Regions from separate parts of the Homo sapiens genome. Here regions 1, 2, 3, 5, 6 and 7 are each linked to region 4. The links are contacts of gene promoters, found by promoter capture Hi-C in human tissues and cell types (Jung and others, 2019). All regions are on one chromosome and are shown on one strand. Each heading gives the region's core, a stretch centred on a gene start or on the middle of the fragment in contact. The rest is flanking DNA. Distances are from core to core; before and after follow the strand shown. Region 1 has its middle 22 kb from the start of DSCR10. Region 2 overlaps ERG (ETS transcription factor ERG). Region 3 overlaps KCNJ6 (potassium inwardly rectifying channel subfamily J member 6). Region 4 holds the start of KCNJ6 (potassium inwardly rectifying channel subfamily J member 6). Region 5 has its middle 6.6 kb from the start of DSCR10. Region 6 has its middle 23 kb from the start of DSCR10. Region 7 has its middle 3.1 kb from the start of LINC01423.

Region 1 (2,786 bases), core at 234-2,733, 310 kb before region 4:
TGCCTGTGGGTCTGGGGCCCTGAGCTGGGGGAGACCTGTGACCTCAGGCATGCCATCGGGGAACTTAAACCCAGAGAAGGGATTGGTTCTTCCGTGATCCAGTACCCCTCCCTGACAGCGCAACAGAATCCAAGGGATTACAGGATGATTTCAGGGATAGTGCGCCACAGGACTGTGGTAAGGTTTGGGGCCCAAGACAGGACCCATCCCATAAGGACAGAAGGGGAGCCTGATCAACTCCTAGGGGTGCACTGAGTAGTCTGACCCAGGATGTGGGAGTGGCTCACAAAGTCGGATGAAACCTACACCCCACCCAGAGAAAAGGAATGGGGAGCAGGGAAGTGTGTGAATGCATGTGAAAGAGGCAGTTCTAAAAGGAGTCAATGTGGGGAGTGAAGTGTGTGGGGCCACAGGTCTCTTAGCATAGACCATACGCCCCTAGCAAAGTGTGGGACCAACCAGGACTAGTGGCAAACGTCCTCCGGGGCTACCACATATGGCTTAGGGAGGCACCCCACAATTCAGTGATTGTGGTGGTCCAGGTTTGGGACTCATATGAACCCTCCATTAAAGCTAAGCAGCATCTGAAAGTTCCCATGAGGGAGATGGTCTAATCAGTCTGAAGAGAAAGTAAAAGAGTGAATAAGTTGTGTCATAACTGGGAGGAAATGGGAAGGAAGCTGTCAAAACCCACCCCATTACAATGTATGTTAAAGAACTTCAAGAAAAGTTATGCAGAGTGTTGTGGGATCAAGTTGACCCCCCAGAGGTTGAGAACTCTCTGTGAAATAGAATGGACCTCTTTTGGTGTGAGATGGCTGGTCGAAGGAACTATAGATAGGGAAACAATTGGCCATGTATTTAAGGTGGTGACTGGGTTGGGAGGACAGCCAGGGCATCCAGACCAATTTCCTTATATTGACTCATGGCTACATATAGTCCAAAACTGACCTGCGTGGTTGCAGCTCTGCCTGACAGCTTATGGCAAAACACTCGTGGCTCAAGCCAAGCTTAAAGTGAAAGAAAAATCAGCTTCGCTGTCAGCTACAGAAACAAAGGGAAAGCCACAGGAAAAACCAGTTCTGCAGGAATCACCAGAGGAGATAGGAATCCTCCCTACAGTCCAATCTACCCGCCTTTACTAAGGCCAGCCCCCGAGGAGTCAAATTCAAATGGTAACGAACCCTGGGCCTTGCCTCAAAAAGAAAAATCAAAACCACTGCCCCAGGTCAAGGAGGAAAGTCAGGATGATCAAGCCTGCTGCCTCCAGTCTGGCCATGCCTGGGCTTTGCAGATGCCTCCCCGGGAAACTCAGGGACCCCTCTATTATACTGAACATGGCCAGATTCAAGGGGAGAGAAAAGGAACCCCTCCTCTGGGAGGCTGACCAGGAGAAAGCATTTAAAAAAATCAAAGAAGCCTTAACACAGGCCCCAGTCTTAGGACTGCCTGACATAACTGAGCCTTTCTTTCTATATGTCCATGAACAAAAAGGAATGGCTGTAGGAGTCCTGACTCAATTCATAGGATTGTGGCATCGCCTGGTGGCATACTTATCCAAGCAACTAGACTCAGTGGCACTAAGGTAGCCTCCTTGCTTTAAGACACTAGCTGTCACTGCCCTACTGGCACAAGAAGCTAACAAACTGACTCTAGGGCAGCAGCTGACCATCCAGTTACCACATTCAGTTATAACTCTAATGAACCAGAGAGGGCATCACTGGTTATCAAATCCAGGAATGACTCAGTACCAGGGACTCCTATGCAAAAATCCCCACATAGCTTTAGAAACAGTAAACACCCTTAACCCAGCCACCTTGCTCCTGATTGAACTGGGAACCCCACTCCATGACTGTGTGAAAATGGTAGATGAAGTATTCTTGAGTAGGGGAGACCTTACAGACCAACCCCTCAGGGACCCAGTTGTTAAGTAGTTCACAGATGGGAGCAGTTTCATACTGGAAGGGGTCCGTTGGGCAGGTTATGCGGTGGTAACGTTGGACTCAGTGATAGAGGCTCAGCCTCTGCCCACCGGAGCATCAGCCCAGAAGGCAGAGCTAATGGCCCTAACAAGGGCTCTTTTGCTGATGAGAGACAAAAAGGTCAATATTTACACTGATTCCAAATCACAAAGACAAAAGTGTGTCTTTGCCACATTGCATGTTCATGAAGCTATATACAAGGAGAGAGGACTCTTAACTGCTGGGAAAAAAAGAAATAAAATACAAAGAGGAGATTTTACAGCTCTTAGGTACTGTATAGGCCCCAAAGAAGGTAGCTGTTATGCACTGCAGAGGGCACCAAAAAGCAAGAACACTAGAGGCCAAAGGAAACAGAAAGGCAGACAGGGAGGCAAAACGGACAGCAATGATTACTCCACACTTTGAAAAGGAATCCTTAGCTATGCTTCTCCTCCCAGAACCTTCCCTCCCCGAGATCCCAAGTTACTCTCCAAATGAGAAGGCCTGGTTTGCCCAAGAAACTGGAAAATGCACTGAAGGAGGATGGTGGAAATTCTCTGATGGGAGACTAGCCATCCCTGAAATGGTGGCCCCTAAGTTTGTAAAACAATTCCACCAAGAGACTCACATGGGGAAAACGGCACTACAAACGCTACTGGGATGCCACCTCTATGTGCCACGGCTCAATGCCCTCACCCAAGCTGTGTGCAGGCAATGTCTAACATGTGCTCAGAATGACCCATAATAACCTACTCGGCCCCTGGGAATTTAGGAAATTGGAGCCACACCCTGTGAAAACCTGCTTATGGACTTCACAAAGCTGCC
Region 2 (2,956 bases), core at 54-2,553, 490 kb before region 4:
GAAAAAAGAATTTTTAAAATCTTATGCCTACAGGAAACTTTAGATTGAGCAAAAACAAGGGCATGTGATGTGAATAATCCCAAGATTCCAGAACTATTCACTTTAAAGACAATGATCTATGGATGTGAGGCAGCTTTTGTCTTTCCCCCAAAATGTTCTCCTGGGTAGCCAGGGAGGCTGGCTGGAGGCTGTGCTTGTGGAAGGCAGCTGGTCAGAAATCCCACGTGGATGGGGATCTACCCCAAGATGAAGATCCCTGGCTTCAGGAATTGACTGAATGTGTTCCCACCCCTTTCAGATCCTACGCTATGGAGTACAGACCATGTGCGGCAGTGGCTGGAGTGGGCGGTGAAAGAATATGGCCTTCCAGACGTCAACATCTTGTTATTCCAGAACATCGATGGGAAGGAACTGTGCAAGATGACCAAGGACGACTTCCAGAGGCTCACCCCCAGCTACAACGCCGACATCCTTCTCTCACATCTCCACTACCTCAGAGAGAGTAAGCTCCCCCTTCCTCCAAGGATAGATGGCTGTGGCTATGGTTCTTATGACCTGAGCTTCAGAGGGTTCAACCAGGTGTGTCGACAGCATCCTCCTGCCCTCGCCCAGTTCCCACTGGGGATCCGAGGGAGCCACATGCTTGGTATGTGATGACTTAGGGGAGCAACACCCTGGCCACATCACCTGATGAGAAGTAGTCAGCGCTCTCAGGAGAAGCCAAAATTCACTTCAACACTCAGCTGCCTCCTCCAGGGTCCTGCGACCAAGAAGATGGAATGTCAAAGGGGAAAGGAAGCGTTAACTGGTCACACATTAGTTAAGTCTCCATGATACCCCGAATCGAAATAGAATCATTAAGGCTTCTCTTTCGTAGGAATTAGGGGGATTATTCTCCCTAAAGCTACATGAAGCCCCACTTTATATTCTAACCTGAGCACAGAACAAGGGAAGTTTTCACTTTGTATCATGTGATTCGGCTTAACCTGACAGAAAGGGATGGCATGTTGGCATGAATCCAGAATGTTTGCTGCATGCTTTAATTTCTACAACGTCCAGCATGGTGAGAAGGAAGTAGTGTGACAGACAGTGAGGTGGATAAATTCTCCTCCATTGCTTTGCCTGGCATCCCAACCACTTCTTCCCTGAATTAAAGACGGGCCCCCATGTAGGTTTTAACATGCTAACAAGTAGCAGGTTGCTGGAAATAGTTATAAGCTTCCCATGATGTTAGTGTGGGAGTGGGGGAACGGTTTTCTTTCTTTCTTTTTCTTTCTTTTTTTTTTTTTTTTTTTGTAAGAAAGGTAATTCTCTTTCTCTCTCTCTCTTTTTTTTTTCATTTTGATGTCGCTTTTTGTTTTGTTTTGTAGCTCCTCTTCCACATTTGACTTCAGATGATGTTGATAAAGCCTTACAAAACTCTCCACGGTTAATGCATGCTAGAAACACAGGTAATGCTGGCCCCGCCCCTGCCTCCCAGCAAGAGCGTAGGGTCTTACGTACAGGTTGCATGCTTTCATGGGAAACCAGTCAGCGCGTGCCAGGAAGACAGAACGCAGGTAGATGATTCAGAATACTTTCGGATACTTAGGAATGTACCACAGCCTAAAGGAAGGTGAAGCCCTTTGGTTTTCTGAGCGCTTCCCAAGCACCCCACTTTGATTATCAAAGGGTTCCTTTTTAACCAGGAGACGTGCAGAATTTGCCTTTAGCCATAACTTAGCTCACATTTGCCGGATTACAGTCTTCTTCTGTTGGTCCCAATATATTCGCTGTGCTGACTCTGTAGACACTAAAAGCATGTTCGATATAAAAGGGCCCTTAGCAACCTCCTTTAATTTTTTCCATTTTTATTCTTAAAGAAATATTTGCTAGGATAAGTTGGAATTTTCTTTTTCCTTTCCAATAAACTTTTAGGCTATTTGATTTGTTTTCCTACAGACTTTGTATGTTTGCAAAAGGCAGGAGGGAATTTCTGTAACATTTTGAGAGCTTTTGTTCAGAGGGAACCTCTGCTATAATTTTGGAGAATATGAAATTAGTCACTAACCAAATGCCTGTTTTCTATCTCTAACCGTTGCCTCTACATTTGACTTAGTTATGTATTTATTTTGCCTGAGCCTAAGTAGGGTTTAACACCGTGCCTCATCCTGGCTAACCTTCCTCCCTCGCCCCCCGCTCACAGCAGAGGCTGGGTTTTCTGTGGATGAATGTGTTCCTGGTTCACATCCATCTGCTCCTTCCTGATGGAGAGAGTTCCGGAAGCATGGCCACCGGCTGCTCACCCCACTCTGTTAGCTGCAGGGACCCTCCACAATCACTCGGGCTAGGGAGGGAGACGGGAAGTGCCAGAAAGCCTTGCAAGTCAGCCAGTTAACTCACGATCAGCCCTCACATAGAAATACGCAATTTTCCCAATATTTACCATTTTATTTTAAAATATAAAATGTGAGTGAGTCCCGGTTTGAGTATTACAATGAAATTGCTCATTTATCATGGTCTTCTATATTCAACACATTGTCTTTTTAATCTGAAGTTTTAAAAAACCTGCTTCGAGTTGGTAGTACACTTTTTCAATAATTTTGGTTGCACACATCAGCCTATTAGTGACCTTGTGGCCAGAAATAACAGATAACTTAGAGGAAGTTACTTCCCCTTCTTAGGAAACACCTTTGAGCTATGCACATTTTCTGATAATTTCACATTTATTTATGAGTTCTTTAACCATTGAGTGAAAGTTTCAAAAAAGCTCCAAATATATTAAATTTTGCTATTGTTAAACACGGAAGAAACCAATGAACAAGACAACAAATTCCAAATGGACTGAACTATGAAAAGGGAATTTTCTCAGCTAACAGCATGAGTTTTGGTCAAAAGAGAGAGAGGGAAAATGCATTTGAATAGAGATGTGGATTAATTATTAATAAAATCCATATACTCTTAGGCTAAATACTTA
Region 3 (2,700 bases), core at 129-2,628, 310 kb after region 4:
TGAAGCACAGATGATACTTGATCCTCAACTTTGTCTCCAGAAATTTTTTCAGGAACTTGAGTTCTTTATCAAATGCTCACATCCTACAGAGAAATAAAGTGTTCCATTTTCAAGGTTCATGAAGCTCGTCAATGCTGGGAGCAGGCACACACTTGTATTTTTATACTCAGGGATCCCAACAGGCAACTAAAACTAGACAAGGACAAAACTCCACTCAAAATATTCTGAAAGTTAGCTGATGCCCCATATTTTATTACTCCAAATGTGTATTCACTTGCCTGAGTGCTGGCCATGAGCACTCAGTGAACACTTGCAGTACAGTGAGTGATGTCCTTGACAAGTTACTATGAAGACTCTGAGAAAAAGTAACATCCCCCACTGTCCTCAACAAGCCTGTAATCCCATGGCTGCCAGCCCTTACCATGCAACAACACTGCGCTAAGTGCATCGAACCACACAAAACCCTGTGAGAAAATACTGCTTCCCACTTCACACGTGAAGTAACTGAGTCTAGTTTTAGAAATACCTAAACGAAGAGGGACAGGCACAACAAATTTGCTGGAATGTAAAGAAAGTAGATCAGTTTCTGCGTAAGCAGTAAGAAATGGCCTCATGAGGAAGAAAGGGACATTTGCCCTGACATTTCTCAAAGACTGCTTAGGTTTTGGAGACAGAGATCCAAGGGCAGGCAAGCACAATGGTTCATGCCTGTAATTCCAGCACTTTGAGAGGCCAAGGTGGGAGGATTGCTTGAGCCCAGGAATTCAAGATTAGCCTGTGCAACACAGCAAGACCCCATCTCTATTTTAAAAAGAGAGAGAGAGATCCAAAAGCAAAGGCATTTCAGTTTGCAAGGCCAGCATGGGAGAGGGTCTTAAAACAGAAACACACAAGGTAAGATTGGGGGATGGTACCTAGACCAGCCTAGGATCATAGGATTTGATAAAATATGCATTTGGAAAACTGGTGCTAATTTATAGAGACTTAGAATTTCAGGCTAAGGACAAGGACTAAGAAACGAATAGCATGAACAGTATTATTGATAAACCCATCATTGCATCTTAAAGGCTCTGAAGTCTTTAGTATTGAATTAAAAAATAATTTTCACTGGACAAAACCAAAAGGTCTTTACACAACTGTCAAGCACTTTGAAATGATTCAGCAAAAAGCAGAATAAATCACTAGTGGAATTTCAATAGCATGTAGTTGTAAACCATCATGTGTCCAGCAAAATCACAAAACAAGAGTTTATTTTAGAAGGGACTTAGGGATATTAAGAAATATAACATACAAAATAACTAAAGTTTTCTCCAAGCAAAACCAATGATCCTTTAGGGATGAACAGAAAGAAAACAAGAAATGCTTCTTTCAAAAGTTGCTACCAAGGCTTCTAAGATTTCTTTGGAATAAAGTCACTAAGATTTGCTTCTGAGGTCAATCTTGCCAACTTTTCCACCATGCTTTTTAGGAAGGAACACCAGGTAGGGCTCAAGTACTGGTTTGGCTCCTGTCCCATTTTTTGGTCCTTTTGTAACTCCCTTTACTCAACTCCAAGTATGTCTGTGCACGGACAATGAGACGAAAGCATGCTCAATGCGAAAGCACAAATTATGTATTGAGAAATCACTACAATGCCAAATTTTTTTAAAATAAAAAAAAAATATATATATATATATATATCTTTAAGAACTCGCTGTGTTAGGGAAACTGTTTACATATTGAGGTGTTCCTCTTTTTTTGACTGGAACAATAAAAGAAAAATTTGATATGGCCTTGGTTTCTTTTTTATGTGTGTCTGTGTCCAAAGAAGTCGGCCTTTTCTACAAGTGAGAGCATGAATTGTTTCAAAGCGCAACACCCTGCCCCAGGGCCACTCAAGATGTCAGGCATATCAGGCATAACCCAAGGATAGTACCATGGGTTTGGAGTGATCTTCTCTCTTCTTCCCTCCCACTCTTCCTCTCTCTCCATCTCTTTCTTTCTCTCCCTAACTCTCTTGCTCCCTTTCCTCCTTCTCGCTCTCCCCCTCCTGTCTCTTTCCCCATCTCTCCCACAATGTTCTGCCTATGGCCAGATCCCAGCAATGGGTCAGCTCCGCTCCTTTCCACACCTACTGACCCAAGTGGGACTCCTTTGATACCTGTTTGTACCTTGCACTTCATGGAACTTGAAAAAAACGAAAGGGAATTAGGGACTTGCAGAGCAGTTGATCCTGCCCCTTGTCACAGCTCTAAGAGTCTTAATAAAAGGAGTTTGATCATTCATGATAAAGTTCCATGTTGGACTAAAGAAACATTCCGTGAGAGTTTTTCGTGTTCTCAGTGGTCCATTTTGCATGGGTTGGCTTTGCCAAACTCCAGTGCCTCGGCTCGGCTCTAACTCCTCCCCACCAGGGAATCTCGGGCTGGTGGCTTAGCCAGCTGTCCCTCTCTACCGAGGCGTGCAGGAAGCCAAGGTTTAAAATGACACGTGAGTTGCCTCATACTGTAACATGAACAAAAGTCATGTAAAAATGTGCCTAAGATAAATTCTTTCCCAGAAGCTAGTGTTTGGTGAAACAAACCCTGGGACATCGTGTGTATTTCGTCCTGATTTTCCTAATGTGCCCCTGCCAATATTACTGTTGTGCCTGGTGGAATTATTACCCTGTCCTCTGTGTCCCCCAGCCCCTGTGTGTCTGTCGCACTTGGCACCCATCAA
Region 4 (2,867 bases), core at 264-2,763:
GAAATCCTGCATCTTGCATTTGTATTCCTGGTCTCTCAGGGATTATTTGGTTCAGTTGTTCTTTGTTTATTTGTAACACTATCACTAGATCCAGCAGGCATTGTGGAGCACGTATTACACATACTACAGATATTACACATACTCATATCTTCTGTATATGGGATATATGACTCAGAAGTAATAGCAAGTCAGATTACAACCTCTTAGGGAAAATCAACAGCAAATACAAGCTCACAGGCCGTGTGTACGGTTGACTTTTACATGACTTTGGATGCAAATTGACACAAACACCTCTCCATATTACAGTCATTTTTAGAGGGCAGACAGCATTCTTGAGGGGACCTGAATTGCTAGGTAATTAAAATGTATGTATGTAGAATAAAATAATCTTGGAAATAAGAGGTTTCCGTAAGCCTTCTCTCTAAAATAAGGTCACCTTCTTTGAGGTAGAGATTCTGTGCCTTGTGGAAGGAAAGCCACTTCATAAAGCAGCACAAGAATAGCCAGTTATTGAAAGGGCCATTATAAAATTACTAGCCAATGGTATTCGCTACTCTTACAATTTGTCAATCCATTCATCCCTAGGAAAAAGACAGCATAAAAGAGAGTTCTGTTCATAGGTAGAAGCAATTTATGGGAAGACTTTGGAAATGTAGAACCATTGTTTTTGATGACCATAAGAAAAAGAGGGGGTGCAAGAGGGGAGCACTATGAGGGGCCCCTGGAATAACAGCACAAAGCAAGTTAGATTCAAAGAGTGGAGTAGACCTTTGTCTAAGGGGCTTATCCTGACAAATTCAACTTTGAAGGCAGCCTGGGTCATTCTTGGAAAAGGCCATTCTTTGTCTCCAGTGACCCCAGAGACATCATATAAGGATGGGGTGATGATGCAGCAGCCGGGACCAGGTCCCAGTTGCAGTGGACAGGACAGAAGGGACTGAATGGGGCAGCAGGCTGGGGCGCCACCAGGTGCAAGCAAAGCTCAGGGATAGGGCCCCTCCCCTCCGTCCCGGCCGCTCGCTGCGCCCCCTCTGGGCGGTGCAGGCTCCGGCTCCCGCGCCGGGGCTGCCTCTCACGGATTTCAGCCCGGTGGGAGGCAGTGCCCAGAGCCTCTTTTTCCTTATCTCACAAAACCCTAAAAGCCGAACCCCTACAACCAGCAGACAAAACTGCTCCCCGAGCTTCGGCTCTTTCCTGCTTTCCAGGCGTTTCTCCGGGAATAACTTACTTAGTGGCACTGGGAGAAAGGTTGGGACTGGGGGGTCGGGGACCGAAACCCAAAAGATTCCCCCAGCATGGAGCACCCACGTTTCCAGTGGCGGGGGATGCACGTTGGTTTGTGCCCAGCCCGCCCCCACCAAGCCCGGTCCTCGACGCGCTGACACGCTAGCTGGCATGGGCGGCGGGGTGGGCGTCTCTGGGTCTGTGGCTCTGTCCTGCTCGCCCCCGCCCCTTCCTCCCGGACCGCGCCGGCGCTGTGCGGCTTTTTCCCCAGCACGCGGCGCTGCACTCGCTTTTATCTCGGAGCCGCGTCGCTTCGTGCGCTGCCAGCGGGGCTCAGCCAGTCGGCTGGAATTGAGTAGCATTCATTGAATCTGCGGATTTCATGACGTCTCTCTGCGTGGTCCACCACTTTTCTCCTAACCGGGGATTTTTTTTTTCTTCTGCCACTCTTATCTTTCCCCACTTCATTCCACCCAGTCTCCCTCCCCCGTCCCTGCCCAAACGCGCGCCCCTCCGCCCCTCCCTTGGCCCCAGCGCCCAGCCCTGCTCTCCGCGCTCGGCCAGAGGGAGCCAGTCCGGAGACGGCCGCACCTGGCTGGAGAGGCTGGGCGGGCGGAGGGGTGGAGACCCGCGGACGCCGGGAAGCCGGACCTGGAGCCGGAGCAGCCGCGAGCAGAATGGAGTCTCCTAACAGCCTCTCGGTGCTGATGTGAAATTTGACCATCTGATTCCAGTTTTTTTCTTTTCCTTTTCTTTTTTGCATTTCCTTCCCTCGCCATCCGTCGTGTAGTGAATTGTTCAGTCTTGCTCCGTTTCAAGAGAGGAGATCATGATTGAGTGAAGCCACCCCGTCCGCAGCCAGGTAAGCGGTGCGCTGAGCTGCTCGCAGGCGAGGAGCTGGCGTCCACCTGGGCGAGGCGTTCCGTGCTCTCGGGTCCCCGCGTCCCCTTCCCCAGCTCCGCCGTCGCCGCAGGCATCTCCACTCTCATGAGAAACATTGTGCCCAAGTCAGCCGAAAGGCGAGGGAGAAGCCGGTTACATAACAGAAGGGGAATCTGTTTCATACGGTTTTCATTAGCGACTGAAACTCGCACGGGGGGCGGGGGAAGGAGGGGTCTGCATCCCTGGGCTCGCAGAAACCCAGTCAGTTATTGCAGACATCATTTCAACATCCGCTGGCAAAGACTTAAATGCACTGATTAACTGACAGGTGCGGCTTGTGATGTAGTCATTTACAGTTGGGAAAAGCCTATTGTCTTTGTGGAAGGCAGTCTTCTTGTTCTGCTTTGCATGGAGAGGAGAGGAGACAACACGAAAGGGAGGAAAAGTGAGGGTTGGGGAGAAACATGCGGAGAATGGGAAACAGAATACTGTAACTCCTAACTGTTCTCTATCCTTAAAACCGAAGATGTGCTAGCATGACTAAAAACAGTGAATAGGAAGATCTTCCTAGGAGTAAACTGAATTATTTTGTAATTGGAAGGGAAGAAAAAACACTTTAGATAAAATGAGATGTGTGTGGCATTTAGAGGACTGGGTGGCTGTGGATATTTGCTTCCCTGTGGATATATTTTCATTTTCATCAAAACATTAAGCTTGGATTAGTTTTTAAGTGAAATAACATCAGTATTCCCAAAACCCAA
Region 5 (2,718 bases), core at 120-2,619, 280 kb before region 4:
TTGGAAACACATCAAAACAGAACTTTCTTAAAGCGTAAATCTCAAAGGACCTATGAAACAAAAATACAATTAAAAAAAACACATACACAGAAAACCAAGTTATGCATGCACAAACAACCTGATGAATGGAATGGTACCACACATCTCAATACTAACGTTAAATGTAAATGGCCTAAATGCTCCACTTATAAGATACAGAATTGCAGAATGGATAAGAATTCACCAACCATCTGCTGCCTTCAAGAGATACACCTAACACATAGGACTCACATAAACTTAAGTTAAAGGGGTGGAAAAAGACATTCCATGCAAATGGGCACCAAAGGCAAGCAGGAGTAGCTATTCTTATGTCAGACAAAACAAACTTTAAAGCAACAGCAGTTAAAAAAGACAAAGAGGGATATTATATAATGGTAAAAGACCTTGTCCAACAGAAAAATATCACAGTTCTAAATATATATGCACCTAACACTGGAGCTCCCAAATTTATAAAACAATTACTAATAGACCTAAGAAATGATATAGACAGCAACACAATAATAGTAGGGGACTTCAATATTCCACTGACAGCACTAGACAGGTCACCAAGACAGAAGGTCAGCAAATAAACAATGATTATTTACAGAATATTCTACCCAACAACTGCAGGATATATATTATATTTAACAGCGCATGGAATCTTCTCCAAGATGGACCATATGATAGGCCACAAAATGGGCCTTAATAAATATAAGATAATTGAAATTATATCAATCACTCTCTCAGACCACAGTGGAATAAAACTGGAAATCAACTCCAAAAGGAACCTTCAAAACCATGCAAATACATGGAAATTAAATAATCTGCTCCTGAGTGACCATTGGGTCAAAAATGAAATCAAGGTGGAAATTTAAAAAGTCTTCTAACTGAATGACAATAGTGACACAACCTACTAAAGCCTCTGGGATACAGCAAAGGCAGTGCTAAGAGGAAAGTTCATAGCCCCAAATGCCTGCATCAAAAAGTCTGAAAGAGCACAAACAAACAATCTGGTCACATCTCAAGGAACTAGGGAAATAAGAACAAACCAAACCCAAACCCAGCAGAGGAAAGGAAATAACCAAGACCAGAGCAGAACTAAATAGAATTGAAACAAACAAACAAACACAAAATAGAAAAGATAAATGAAACAAAAAGCTGGTTTTTTGAAAAGATAAAATAAAATTGATAGACCATTAGCAAGATCAACCAAGAAAAGAAGAGAGAAAATCCAAATAAACCCAATTAGAAATGAAATGGGAGATATTACAGCTGACACCACAGAAATACAAAAGATCATTCAAGGCTACTATGAACACCTTTATACACATAAACTAGAAAACTTAGAGGAGATGGATAAATTCCTGGAAAGATACAACCTTCCTAGCTTAAATCAGGAATAATTAGATACCTTGAAGAGACCAATAACAAGCAGTGAAATTGAAATGGTAATTTAAAAATTACCAAAAACAAAAAGTCCAGGACTGATGGATTCATAGCAGAATTCTACCAGACATTCAAAGAATTGGTACCAATCTTATTGACACTATTCCACAATATAGAGAAAGAGGAAACCCTCCCTAAATTATTCTATGAAGCTGATATCACCCTATTACCAAAACCAGGAAAGGACATAACCAAAAAAGAAAACTACAGACCAATATTCCTGATGAACATAGATGCTAAAATCCTTAGCAAAATACTAGTGAACCGAATCCAACAACATATCAAAAAAAAAAAAAAAATCCACCATGATCAAGTGGGTTGTATACCAGGCATGTAGGGATGGTTTAACATATGCAAGTCAATAAATGTGAACATCACATAAACAGAATCAAAAACAAAAATCACATGATTATCTTAATACATGCAGAAAAAGCATTAGACAAAATCCAACATCTTTTTATGATTAAAACTCTCAGAAAAATTGGCATACAAGGGACATACCTCAATGTAATAAAAGCCATCTCTGACAAACCCACAATTAACATAATACTGAAAGGGAAAAAGTTGAAAGCATTCCCTCTGAGAACTGGAACAAGACAAGGATGCTCACTCTCACTCCTCTTCAACATAGTACTGGAAGTTCTAGACAGAGCAATTAGACAAGAGAAAGAAATAAAGGGCATCCAAATGGGTAAAGAGGAAGGAGGAAGTCAAACTGTTGCTGTTTGCTTATGATATGATTGTTTACCTAGAAAACTCTAAAGACTCCTCCAGAATGCTCCTAGAACTGACAAAAGCATTCAGCAAAGTTTCCAGATACAAAATTAATGTACAGAAATCAGTAGGTCTTCTATACACCAACAGTAACCAAGGTGAGAATAAAATCAAGAACTCAACCCCTTTTACAATAGCTGCAAAAAAGTAAAATACTTAGGAATATACCTACCCAAGGAGGTAAAAGACTTCTACAAGGGAAACTACAAAATACTGCTGAAAAAAATCATAGATGACATAAACAAATGGAAACACATCTAATGCTCATGGATGAGTAGAATCAATATTGGAAAAATGACCATACTGCCAAAAGCAATCTACAAATTTAACACAATTCCCATCAAAATACCACCATCATTCTTCAAAGAATTACAAAAAAAAACCCTAAAATTAATATGGAACCAAAAAAGAGCCCACATAGCCAAAGCAAGACTAAGCAAAAAGAATAAATCTGGAGGCATCACATTACCTGATTTCAAA
Region 6 (2,941 bases), core at 273-2,772, 270 kb before region 4:
TATACACCACGGAATACTATGCAGCCATAAAAAATGATGAGTTCATGTCCTTTGTAGGGACATGGATGAAGCTGGAAACCATCATTCTCAGCAAACTATCACAAGGACAAAAAACCAAACACTGCATGTTCTCACTCATAGGTGGGAATTGAACAATGAGATGGTTTTGATGTGTGGAGTGAAGAAGGGGTACTCCACCATTCTTTTGAACATAGACATCCAGTTGTTCTAGCACCATTTGTTGAAGTCATGAATCATTTTTGTCAAGAAAAAGAATTTCCAATATGTAAATGAGTGACTTCCAGATTTTATAAAATCATAGGACATTACCTCTAGAATTCTGCTTATAGGTAACTTATTCCAAATATCCTTAAACAGGTCAATTAATTTACCCAAAATTATCCCTGCATCAAGTCTGTTCCCAGCTCATGTACCCAGGATCTGTGCCAGCCTGGAAACCATGTGGCTCGTCTTCTACTGTGTTGGTGGTCAGAATCTACTTCTCCTTTTTTTCCCCACACACTTGTATTTTCACTCAAGACTAAGATTCTCAAAAATCTAGTGAGTATGGTGAGTTGTGGTGTGGAAGGTTTGGGGAGAGAATTGCTGGTGACACATTTCATTTAAGAAAATAAAGCTTTGTGGAGGAAGATGCAGGAAGGAGGAGCCCTGGAGTTGATATAAGAAGGAATTGCAATTTTTAAAAAATCTTTCTTTAGTATAGAGTCCCAGAAAATCAGTGACATGATGAGAGGTCCACTCATTTACAGTGAAGCCACCATGGATAAAGGTCTTCTAGACCTTGGATTTGAGATGTGGGTATTCCATCCAGCACTGAGATTGTTTAGTGCAGCAGATTTTTCACTGGCTCACTCCGCTGCCATTCCCACTTCCTTCTACTGAACCTTCTAGTATAACAGATGCCAGGAGACTAAAAACCGTACTTAGCAGAGAAGATTTTGCATGTGGCTTAGATTCTGCCAAGCAGATGTCCACATGAGACCAGGAGGGTGTGAACAATGGGAGCCAGTGGCCATGGTTCGTGACAGAAACGTTCATTCTCCCGTTGCAGGTCTGGCAGTTTCTGAAGTCTGATTCCTAGAAACTTAGGTACTGAGCAGTAGGCAGCAGCAACAGAAACAGTTCCATAGGTGGTTGGGCATTTCCTTTGATTGCTGTATTTTTGATTATGTGATAATTAAACCTTATGCCCTGGGCCTCACTGAGATTCTGTAAGGTTCATCATTCCATCTGATACATCACTTTCTTTTCAGATCAAATAGAGTGCATTCTACTTTCTTCCACTATGAGCCTTGACCAATATAACCAGTAATCTAATCAACTATGAAAGGGCAATTAACACATTTTTCTCTAGGCTTTTGTCAAGTCTAGATAAATGTTTCTTTTGTGAAGAATGAATCTAAAAGAAAAAGATCAATACAGTCCTGATTTGAACAAAAGATTCAAAAAGTTGAAAGAATCAGTATCCCTGAAGACTCAGAGAAGCACAGAGACTTTTCAAAATGATTTATAGAAAAGCCAGAAATAAATTATTTTGGAAACAATTTTCCATTCTCAATAGAATAAAAGAAGGCAATGCCTCCATGCAATAAGATCAGTGAATCAAGCTGTGATCAAACAGAAGCAGTTATGAGATTCAAAAACATAAAGATGAGCCAAGACTATAAGGGGATAAAAAGGTTCTGTAATTTTATGCTTTAACATAAACTTTGCAAGGTCATGGCACCCAGATATTTGGTCAAACACTAGACTGGATGTTGCTGTGAAGACAGTTTTTGGGTGAGATTAACATTGAAATCAGGGGACGTTAAGTAAAGCAGTTTATCTTCTATAATGTGGGTGGGCATCCTCTTATCAGTTGAAGGCCTTAAGAGAAAAAGATGGAAGTTCCCCACCCAAGGAAGAAGGAATTCTACCTGCCATCTGCTTTTGAACCAGAGCTGCAACATTAATTCTTCCTGGGTCTCCAGCCTGCTGGCCTACTATGCGGATTTTAGACTTGCCAGGTTCCAAGGTAACATGAGCCAATTTCTTTAAATAAGTCTCTCTCTCTCTCTTTTTTTTCTCTCTCTCTTTTTCTCTCTCTCTCTCTCTCTCTCCTCAACATCCACACCCACACATCCTATTGGCTCTGTTTTTCTAGAGAACCATCACTAAGAAAAACAGCATATAGTTTAGTCTTATATTTTTGTACAGTCTGATCATTTATACCTTTTAGTTTAAATGTTTACTCCATCTACATTTATGTAATGAATTATATCATTAGGTTCATGTCTATCAAGTTCTTACTTGCTTTCTATTTGTCTCTGTCTATTATTCTGCTTTCTCCAATCTGCTCTTAAGGAAAATAATTGAATTTTTCATCTCAGACATTTTGATTTTTAGTTCTATAATTATTTCTTTATGTATATATATTTATTTTCTCCTGCCAGGATTCCCAGTTGACCCTCACCATGACCCCGTGTTCCTTTATATCTTTGCATATACTCTTCATAGGTGCTGTGCACTCCTTCTCTCATAACTCCAAACTTTTGGTCTCTTTAGAAGTGGTTGCTAATGACTGCTTTTCTTTTTTTGAGTCCCATTTTTCTATTTCTTCACATGTCTACCAATATTTTATTTTACTATGGGCTTTGTAAATGTTTTGTTTTAGAGACTTGGTCAGAGTGTTGAGTTCTGCCTTAGAGGGTGGTGAAGTTGGCTGCCTGTCTGTGGGGGACTGCAGTTGATATCTCCTCTCAATTCCCTCTGTCCTCCATCTGCTGCCTCCTTCTAGGACCCTTGACATTTTCCACATGCATGCGCAGTTTATGCGTGTGTAGTCAGCCAGGAACTGGGGCAAAGTCTGCACACAGATTTGGGGGATCCCCCCTCCTTGACATCCTCCTTTTTGGCATTCCTACCCACCTCACACCCCAGA
Region 7 (2,909 bases), core at 297-2,796, 430 kb before region 4:
CTCCTATCCCAGTATTTCCAACCCACCTGTGTAATGCATTCCTCACCTGACAGCACACTGAACTTTCCGATCAGATCCCTGACTGCCTCTGCCTCCACGCACACATTTTCTTTGGTTCCCAGCTACTACAGAGAAAAGCCCCACTCGTTACTTCTGAAGAAACTCGGCAATTTGTCAGTGGCTTACTTGCCACCACTCCGCTCCGCATTTCCCAAGCTTCAGCCATGCTGACCACCCCATTTTCCTCATTTCCAGCTTCCTCAGTTTGCTTATACTTGGAAACTCATCTTTCTAGAGCTCCTTAGCCCTCTGCTTCTCCCTGCCAAAATCTTTCCCATCCTTGTAGGCCCTGCATAAATACTCTTTTTCTCTAGTGACTTCTGTGAAGTAACCACTCCCTCCTTGGACTGCCTGTGACATTACAAATGCCACTGTGTAGCTGGAAAGCTCTTTGCGTCATTCAGAAGTGGGGTCTTATTCATCTTGAAATGCCCAGAGCCTAGCCCAGTGCCGGGCACTTTGCAGATGTGCAACACTTATTGACTGGCTGAGAGAGTGAATGAATTATTGAATGAATGACTGTGTACACATGGCCCACCCTAACCATTTGAGCTCCATGATCCCCAGGAATTTAGGATCTTCTACTGATTGATGAAGGCAATTAAGCAGAATTTTTGTGTCTTTAGCCCAAAAGGTATAAACAAATATTGTTTGCCCTCTGTTTATCTTTCCCTGAATAGATAGTTGGTAGCAGAAACGTGACATCATAAAGGCTAACCACAAAGATACACCGGAGAAAAACTGATTCTGTTGGTCAAACAACTAAAATTGTCTGTGTCTTAGAATTTGTGAATATTATTTATTGGATTTATTCAAAGATAATGGAAACTGTTTGTGCTCTTATACTATGAACTGTGATTCTAAAACCATTTTCAAAGTCAAGTCAAGTAGTTTAGATTTTGGTTGACTGACCTTATTAAAAGAGTATGAAAATAAATCTTTTGAGATTCACTAGGATAGACGTCAGAGAGACCTGAGATGCGTTAGTCTCTAGGGAGTGTGGGCAACAAATTAGATGAAGTAGGTTATCTTATTTCATCTTGGAGTCTAGCCAGGCTCCCGAAATAAGATCGTCCCCACCTTCCACTTAAGTAACTAAACACATGCTCCAGCCATGGAATTACCCAGATCACTGATGCAGTGATGTTTTCTTGGCTCCAGCCTTTTAGATCAGTTGTCCACTCTGCCCGTGTTCCCCAGGTAATTCGCAAACACTGTTCCACTTTGCTTCCTGTAACTATAGCCAGAGACATGTGGAACAGTCAAGAGAGTCACTATTTCCATCACTGTTCATGAGCAATTTTCTTACTTAAACCACATCGCTCCAACCCTCCCCTCAGAAAACAACCCAAACCGAGAATATGTTTTCTTAAGAAACCTCAGTCAAATATCTCGGCTAGTTTTCCATTTTCTTTTAGCAGATTCCAGGAAACGGGGGTGTAGGGGTGCCTTAGGAAGCCCCAACTTCTGAGATTCCAGACAGGACCCTCCCATCCCCATCCTGAGAAAGGTTAGCTAGGGGTCAGGTGTGTGTGTTTTGTTGCGTTTTCTCTTTCTCCTAGTACAAGCAAAAGGATAAGTTCAGGTTTTTCTGCTTTATTCTCTCAAGAAATGATTGCTTAAAAAAAAAGATGGTCACACGTGAGGTTTTCCTTTCTCTTAGGTACAGATGGTGACAATTACTGGGACACTTAGCTACTTGTTTCTATGCAGTGCTGGAACCTCAGTGAATCTTAGCAAAGACCCTGCACTCTTTCCTGTGAGCAGCTGCTGCCAGGGACTAGAGAGAAATGAGGCGAGACCTGTCTGTTTCACAGAGTCTCCATTCCCCAGGAAATCCTTCCCCAAATCACTCATGATTGTGCTCGCCAAGGCTTCATAAACAAAGACATTTTCCCTACCAAGACCTGCAGTATGTAGGAATCCCTCTTTCCTTCAAACCGTCAGACCTCTCCCACCCTCAAGGTGAGAAGTCTCCAGTGTCCTGGGAAGCAACGAAATGTGTGACTCAGTTGCCTGCCTTGTAACCATCCCGTGAGGGGCCACAACCCATGGGACCTGCACCTTCTGAGGCAGGTTGACTTTCTGGAGGTCTCAGCAGAGAAAACGAAATGGAGGCAAGCCACAACTGCCACCTCTTTTGCCAGAGGAGACTCCAAGAATCACAGTAGGCCAGGTGATAGGCTTTCCCCCTTGGAACAAGCTTTAAGGAAAGATAAGGGCTTATTGCAAAAGGAGTCGCTTCATCCATCATCTGTGTAAAACAGTTACCTTTCACTTTCTGAGACTCTCTTCAAACAAACTTCTTTCCTTATTCTCTAAACTGCTGCTCTCACTAACCAAATGCCATAGACGAGCCTTCCTTTACAAGCAACGGAGCAAATGACAACCATTCTTGTGGCTGAACAGTGGCAAAACATCTTCCAGATCATAAGCCAAGCCATCCTGTCTAGGAAGATGTGTAGAAACTGCCCTCATGGCTCATGACCGCTGTTCTGGCAAGAGAGGCCCCCGGCATCCGAAAAGCAAGAACAGGAGGTAACTGGAAGGGATTCCTCCAGTTCCAGAGACTCGAGCTGTGAAACAAACAACAATCCAAGAGTGTTCATGTGCTGCGATTTCCACTAGGGATAATAACTGCTACCATCGCTTGGCTATTGCCTGCCAGGCTCTGGGCTTTCTCTTAGGTATATCATCTCATTGCAGCCTCTCAAGAACCATATTTTACAGATAGAAAAACTGAGGTTTAGACAGATTAATAAATTGGGCAAAGACATAATCTCACAACTCATAAATCGTAGGGCTTGGAGTCGGGCTCAGAAATCTCTTCTCTTAACCAGCCCTCATGC

Evidence for each region. Contacts are between HindIII fragments. The study calls those that stand out against the background at their distance.
Region 1: a fragment that was not itself captured here is called in contact with the fragment with the promoter of KCNJ6 in region 4 in 4 of the 25 tissues and cell types used here (H1 embryonic stem cells, mesenchymal stem cells, mesendoderm cells and 1 more).
Region 2: a contact is called between a fragment that was not itself captured here and the fragment with the promoter of KCNJ6 in region 4, in 4 of the 25 tissues and cell types used here (dorsolateral prefrontal cortex, liver, mesenchymal stem cells and 1 more).
Region 3: a fragment that was not itself captured here is called in contact with the fragment with the promoter of KCNJ6 in region 4 in 1 of the 25 tissues and cell types used here (mesenchymal stem cells).
Region 5: a fragment that was not itself captured here is called in contact with the fragment with the promoter of KCNJ6 in region 4 in 2 of the 25 tissues and cell types used here (IMR-90 fibroblasts and mesendoderm cells).
Region 6: a contact is called between a fragment that was not itself captured here and the fragment with the promoter of KCNJ6 in region 4, in 3 of the 25 tissues and cell types used here (bladder, dorsolateral prefrontal cortex and thymus).
Region 7: a fragment that was not itself captured here is called in contact with the fragment with the promoter of KCNJ6 in region 4 in 3 of the 25 tissues and cell types used here (H1 embryonic stem cells, dorsolateral prefrontal cortex and mesenchymal stem cells).

The regions. Positions count from the first base shown.
Region 1 is chr21:38,226,570-38,229,355 of GRCh38, reverse strand. No RefSeq gene overlaps it. Among named protein-coding and RNA genes, the nearest start is that of DSCR10, 22 kb to the right of the region's middle. The HindIII fragment of the contact is 3,540 bases long and covers 1-2,786 here.
Region 2 is chr21:38,401,052-38,404,007 of GRCh38, reverse strand. It overlaps ERG (ETS transcription factor ERG), which reads left to right. Exons shown (of 10, transcript NM_182918.4): 4 at 299-502; 5 at 1,371-1,451. Among named protein-coding and RNA genes, the nearest start is that of LINC01423, 56 kb to the right of the region's middle. The HindIII fragment of the contact is 6,085 bases long and covers 1-2,956 here.
Region 3 is chr21:37,606,444-37,609,143 of GRCh38, reverse strand. It overlaps KCNJ6 (potassium inwardly rectifying channel subfamily J member 6), which reads left to right. Exons shown (of 4, transcript NM_002240.5): 4 at 1-1,771. All of the region lies in intron 1 of KCNJ6-AS1 (KCNJ6 antisense RNA 1), which reads right to left. Among named protein-coding and RNA genes, the nearest start is that of KCNJ6-AS1, 89 kb to the right of the region's middle. The HindIII fragment of the contact is 4,451 bases long and covers 1-2,700 here.
Region 4 is chr21:37,915,103-37,917,969 of GRCh38, reverse strand. It overlaps KCNJ6 (potassium inwardly rectifying channel subfamily J member 6), which reads left to right and starts at 1,513. Exons shown (of 4, transcript NM_002240.5): 1 at 1,513-2,086. The HindIII fragment of the contact is 8,322 bases long and covers 1-2,867 here.
Region 5 is chr21:38,198,209-38,200,926 of GRCh38, reverse strand. No RefSeq gene overlaps it. Among named protein-coding and RNA genes, the nearest start is that of DSCR10, 6.6 kb to the left of the region's middle. The HindIII fragment of the contact is 7,007 bases long and covers 1-2,718 here.
Region 6 is chr21:38,181,716-38,184,656 of GRCh38, reverse strand. No RefSeq gene overlaps it. Among named protein-coding and RNA genes, the nearest start is that of DSCR10, 23 kb to the left of the region's middle. The HindIII fragment of the contact is 4,625 bases long and covers 1-2,941 here.
Region 7 is chr21:38,347,743-38,350,651 of GRCh38, reverse strand. No RefSeq gene overlaps it. Among named protein-coding and RNA genes, the nearest start is that of LINC01423, 3.1 kb to the right of the region's middle. The HindIII fragment of the contact is 3,820 bases long and covers 1-2,909 here.